2 separate regions of the Homo sapiens genome follow, and region 2 is linked to region 1. The links are contacts of gene promoters, found by promoter capture Hi-C in blood cells and fetal thymus (Javierre and others, 2016). All regions are on one chromosome and are shown on one strand. Each heading gives the region's core, a stretch centred on a gene start or on the middle of the fragment in contact. The rest is flanking DNA. Distances are from core to core; before and after follow the strand shown.

Region 1 (3,296 bases), core at 86-2,585:
CCCTAAGGAGGGGACGGGATTTTAATCAACCATGCCTATGTAATGAAGCCTCTGTAAAACTCCCAAAAGACAGGGTTTAGAGAGCTTCCACCCAGCTGAACATGTGGAGGTTACTGGAAGGTGCAACACCCTTTTTTCTGTACTTTGCCCTACGCATCTCTTCATCTATATCATTTGTAATATCCTTTATAATAAACTAGTAAACATAAGTGTTTCCTGAGTTCCGTGAGCCACTCTAGCAAAATATCGAACCGCAAAGAGGGGGTGGTGAAAATCCCAATTTGAAGGTGGTGGAGTCAGATGTTCCAGAGGCTAGACTTTAGTGGGAAGTGGGAAGGGGGAGGCAGGCTTGGGGACTGAGCCCTCAGCGAATGGTGTCTGACCCATCTCCAAGTAGACGGCGTCGGAATTAAACTGGAGGACACCCAGCTGGTGCCCGCTGCAGAACTCACTGAACTCATTGCTTGCTTGAGATGTGTGGGAAACTCCCCTATATTTGGTCAGAAAAGTCTTCTGTTATGATTAGTTGTCGTTGAGATAATAGAAAAAAATGCACCTTGCGTTTTTTCCACTGATTCAGAGGGCATAACTGAAAGAATGAAGAACTGAAAGAATGATCTTAATACTCTGCTTCGCTTTTCTTGATAATACGCATTACTTCCCAATATGCATCAGTGTCCTTTATTATTAATTTTTTCCTATTGAATTCCTCCCGCATTAGAATGCTGCTCCATGAGGTGGGGATTTTGTCTGCTTGTTCACTGCTGTGTGCCCAGGGCCCACGACAGTGCCCGATACAGCAGGCGCTCAATAAGTGGCGAATGAAAGACAGGGCAAGGCGGAGAGAGAAGAAACAGAAAGGGAAAGAGAAAGCCCGGGCCGCCAGAGCGCTTAATCACACGTACATCCTACCGGGCCCCTCTCCAGCTGGCTCAGGCTCCACACTGGTCCTCCAGCTCCCTTTTCTCAGCGATGGACTCACAGCCCCACCCGGAGCGCTGGAGCGCGGACGCGGTCACTGCGCGTGCGCCTCACCGCGCTGGCACCCCGGCCTGGCAGCCTTTGGGGACCTGAACCAGCTGCGCCTGCGCAGGTGGAACGGGTGGAACGGGTGGGGGAGCGGACAGTCGAACGGCCTGAGAGGGCTCAGCTGGTCCGGGTGGGATTCTGAAGGCCAGCGGAGGTGGGCTTACTAGGGAAAGGGGCGCAGCAGTAACTACCCGCAACTGAGCGGCGGGATCTGCGGCCGCCCGGGGCCCTCGGCCAACATCCCAGCATCCTCTGCGCCGCGCCGGCCCCGGACTCCATTTCCCAGCGGCCCCTGCGGCCTGCCCTAGGGCTGCGGCGCCTTTGTGAGCGCGGCCGCCGGCCAGGATCGAGCCCTGGCCCGGGCCCTGGCCCAGCCCCGGCCTCCAAGGACCGCGCCGAAGGAGGTGCCCACTGGAGGGAGGAGGCGGTGAGGAGCGCGGGATGGAGCTGACGCCGGGAGCGGCCATGCCACCATGTGTGGGACCGTGTGTGACAGTGTGTGAGAATGTGTGAGACATTAAGGAACCGTGTGTGACAATGTGTTTGACAGTGTGGAATCGTGTGTGAGACCATGTGTGACTGTGTGAGAATTTGAGACCGTGTGTGACAGTGTGAGAATGTGAGGCCGTGTGTGAATATGTGTGTCAGTGTGAGACCATGTGGGACAAATGTGGGACTATGTGTGACAGTATGAGACTGGGTGTGAGAATGTGTGCGACAGTATGAGACCGTTGCCCCGGTGTATGCGGGAGCCTTTGACAGTATATGGGACCGTGTGGGACTGTGTGACACTGTATGTGCTTAAGACCACGTCACCATGTGTGAGACTGGGAATGTGTGACAGTGTTAAACTGTCATTATGTGTAGACCACGTGTGAACAGTGTGTAAGACCATGTCACTGTGTGTGTGACCTGTGTGTGTGGGATAATGTAAGACTGTGTGACAGTGTGTGTGACTTTGTGAACAGAGCTTGACCGTGTGTGTAGGATTAGATGAGACTGTGACAGTATGTGAGACCATGTCACCGTGTGTGAGGCTATGTGTGGTTGTGTACGGTGTGTGGCTGTTGATATGGGACCACATGAAACTGCGACAGAATTTGTGTGACAGTGTGTGAGACTGTGTCACTGTATGTGAAACTGTATGTGAACAGAGTTTTTGTTGTTGGACTAAGATTGTATGTGACAGTGTTTGAGATTGTGCATGACAGTGTGTGTGATTATGTGAGACTGAGGGAGATGGTGTGACTTAGCACTGTATGTCATCCCGACAGTGAGTGTGACAGTGTGACTGAGAATGGCCTTATATGACCCATTGTGAGAGCAGGGCGGGCTACAATGTGGGGGCATGTCCATAGGTTGCCAGGGGAGGTGCCAGAATGAGAAACTATGTGGTTTGTTGTCTGTGATTTGTGTGGGCAGGAAGCTGTGTGGGTGCTTGGAGATGCTGGTGTGCTCTGGGGTTTGGGAGACTGCTGTTGTGGTGGAGAGACAGAAAGATTGAGATAAAGGGGAAAAGATGGAGAAAGGGAGGGACGAGAGCTGAAAAGGGAGAGACAGACAGGAGCCTCAGCCTTAAGCCTGAAAAGCTGACCACGCTGGCTGCTTGTCCTCTGGCACAGTAGTTTTTCCATCCCTCTCAGTCTCTGGGGGCACGTGAGGAATTTAAAAGGAAAAAGGAATGGGAGACCTACCATGTGCTGGTTATGAAAATAAATGACAGAAAGATGAAAATTAAGCACTGTGCTCAATGCTTTATGTAGATCATTTCAGAATCCTCCCAACAATTGATAGGGAATAGTTACCATTTCACTGATAGAGAAACAGGTTTGCAGTGGTTACCTAACTTGCCAGAGGTTGTATAGGTAGCATGTGGTGGTTTGGCTGTTTGAGACCAGGTGTTCTGATCCTTAAGCCTAGTAGTTCTTACCACTGAGTTATGCCACTTCATAGGTAATGGCTTTATTCTTCAAGGCAGTGAGGTCTGCTGGACAAGAATTCACCATAGGGGGTTTGGATGACTGTTCAAGCATAGCCTGCTCCTCCCTCCCTCTCTCCTTCTTTCTGTCTGAGGAGATTGCCCAGAAAAGTCAAGAGATTAGTTTTCAGTTGTGGGTTGTCATAAGCCAGGACCAGAAGTAGGCCGTCTTGACTCTTTGATCGAGTGTCCACCACACTACATGGACCCTCTGATACTCACTCTGTGTATAGAGATGCTTTCTCTGAGAAATTTCACTTTGTAGCTTTATCTGTCATCCTTGCAGAAA
Region 2 (2,969 bases), core at 298-2,797, about 12 Mb before region 1:
TATCTATTGATGGACACATAGGTGGGTTCCATATCTTAACTATTGTGAAGAATAGTGCTCCAATGAACATGGTAGTGTAGATATCTGATCCACATACTGATTTCCTTTGCTTTGGATATACTCAATAGTGGGATTGCTAGATCACTCGAATCTTATGCCTCAGAGGCTTGACACAAGAGCAAAACTATGGAAGTGTGGCTAGGGTGATATGGCTTCATACCACCTCAGGCCTCAAGTCCTCAACTGCACCAGAGTGTCCACGTTGGACAGAATCCTTAGTAATGAGGTGTGTGATAAAGTCTCTGCTCAGTTGTCTATAATCTCATTTGAGAGTTCACAAAGGGGCAAAACATTAAAAAGAGGCATATGGTAAGCACTTCAGTGTGTGTTTATATCATAATTTATCACAGTCCATACTGATAATATATTTCATCCAGGCTTGTAGGACAGAAAACATTTGTTTAAGTTAAATTCAGTGTTTCACCATAGCTCAGCATTCTCCCATCATCCTAGGACCATCGTAGTAGAGAACTCTTGTAAATTGTGCAGTAGGGTTGCAAACAGAACTTACGCTTGTCATTCAGGAGACAGGCCTTAGAATAAGAGTTTGTTCACACATTTACAAAACCCTAATGATGAACATGTCAAAAGTGGTGACCACTAGAATGTCAACTACAGGTACCTTGTTTTCTGCATCCTCAGGACCTTAACACTGATTAGCACTTACATGTTTAGTATGTGTTAAATGACTCAAAAGGAGAAAATATGATATTTTAAAATTGCATCTAGGAGAGAAAATCTACAAAAAATAATTCAGGGACACGAGTTAAAATGCAGAATACACTCAGTTCTGCAATCCAAAGCATTATTTTGGGTAATCTTACCCTGTTGCACTTGGCTGCTGGCTTCCCCTCATCCTCTGTTCTGAAGTTTACTACTAGTGGCTTTGTCTAATGCTCCATTGGTTGCATACAATATAAATTCAACAATCATTTGTAACTCTTCTCACACTACAGGCTGAAAATGGTTTGTTAACTTGTCAATAACAGTCCACTGCATATATCACAATTACATTTTTTTCAACAGTGTTAAGGCAAAATTTATAGTAATACTTTTTACGTGGCAGATGTAGTTACGTTGGAAAAAACTTCCTTAGTTCTGAATTCTCATGATTGCTTCTGTATTTCCATGCAGGCCTTGATATAATGGCCTTCTAATTGTGGTAGCATTTATTTTATCAAACAACTCAGGTAGAAGCTATGCCAATTTGACAATTTTTGGAAACCTAACCTAATATTCTCTTCCTATCTCTATGAAATACCAAGAGAAACCTATCGGAGTTTGGTAATTTCATGAAATGTATCCATGATTGGGGTAGGAGTGACATTTACATGCTCTTCTTTATTGTTGGCAGTAAAAATAAGTCTTTTGTAAGCAGTGTATATCAGAATGTATAAGGTACAAGTGTTTTACCTGGAAATGATGGGATAGGAAATTATGATTATGATGTTAAAACTGTGAAAAGTAGAAAACCACATGGATGATATCACCCCATTTTAAAATGGAATAAGTATTCAACAAGAATTTGTGTGAAATGCATTTATTCCTATAACATAAGACCAATAAAATGAGGGAACCAGACATACAGTAAAAGGAGAAAAACATAATGTGAGCTTTGTGAAATCTGACTGTAACCTTCATAACATAATCAAATATCTTTGTGTGTTTCTGGGACTTTTTAATGTGTATATACGTAATTTGTGAACAACTATTCTTTCCTCTGGCAATGAATATTTGCTGGTATTTTTCCATTTTATAATTTTATGCATTTTTTCTCAGTGAACATCAGTTTTATCAAAGCAGTAAATTTAGTGCAATAAATTTGCAAACTTATTAACGTTAATCACTTACCTACCAGGACTCAGAATCTCAGAATAAAATTGCTCTATATTGTCATATGATGTAAGTTCACAATGACTAGGGCATTTTGAAGTCATTTCAAAGTGAAATACTCTCTGGTTGGGCCAGGCGCAGTGGCTCACGCCTGTAATCCCAGCACTTTGGGAGGCTGAGGGTGGTGGATCATGAGGTCAGGAGATCGAGACCAACCTGGCTAACACGGTGAAACCCCATCTCTACTAAAAACACAAAAAATTATCCAGGTGGTGGCGGGCGCCTGTAGTCCCAGCTACTCGGGAGGCTGAGGCAGGAGAATGGTGTGAACCCAGGAGGCAGAGCTTGCAGTGAGCTGAGATCATGCCACTGCACTCCAGCCTGAGCAACAGAGTGAGACTCTGTCTCAAAAATATATATATATTCTCTGGTTTTTAGAATATGCAGATAAAGTGATGAAGTCTGGTTAACTGTCTTGGTAATTAAAGCATGTGATGCTTCTTTAGGGATAAGTCAGGGAGTGTGCAAATACTGGAGATCCTGCCCAGTGCCCAGACACAGCTGATTTATCGAGACAGAGAATTCACAATAGCGAAAGAATTTAATACACATAGAACTGGCTAAATGGGAGACAAGGGTTTTATTATTACTCAAATCAGCCTCCTTGAAAATTTGGAGGCTAGGGTTTTTCATAGATAGTTTGACAGGCAGGGGGCTAGGGAATGGGTGCTGCTGGTTGGCTGGGGATGTGAAAAATGGTCCTTGTGCATTAAGTCCACTTCTGGGTGGGGGCCACAGGACCAGTTGAGTCAAGAGTCATGGGTTTAGGTGGGGCCATCTGGTTGTCAGAAATGCAGAAGCCTGAAAAGACATCTCAAAAGGCCAGTCTTAGGTTCTACAATAGTGGTGTTATTTACTGGAGTAACTGGGGAATTTGCAAATTTTAAGACCTCTGGAATAACAGCTGGAAATCAGAATAATGACTGGTAATCCTTTACACATATATCTTAGAATTCAGGCCCCTCTCATCCTCGTAAACTAGTGGGGCCTTTCAATAGTATTACAAAGGCAGTTTA

The links. The method cuts DNA at HindIII sites, captures the fragments that hold promoters and counts their contacts. A CHiCAGO score of 5 or more calls a contact.
Region 2: a fragment that was not itself captured here is called in contact with the fragment with the promoter of ZNF583 in region 1 in 1 of 17 cell types (total CD4 T cells); the score reaches 6.6 in total CD4 T cells.

The regions. Positions count from the first base shown.
Region 1 is chr19:56,402,997-56,406,292 of GRCh38, forward strand. It overlaps ZNF583 (zinc finger protein 583), which reads left to right and starts at 1,336. Exons shown (of 5, transcript NM_152478.3): 1 at 1,336-1,456. RefSeq lists an enhancer at 760-899 and a silencer at 1,360-1,569. The HindIII fragment of the contact is 8,045 bases long and covers 1-3,296 here.
Region 2 is chr19:44,011,969-44,014,937 of GRCh38, forward strand. It overlaps ZNF230 (zinc finger protein 230), which reads left to right. Exons shown (of 5, transcript NM_006300.4): 5 at 1-1,956. Among named protein-coding and RNA genes, the nearest start is that of ZNF230, 10 kb to the left of the region's middle. The HindIII fragment of the contact is 5,903 bases long and covers 1-2,969 here.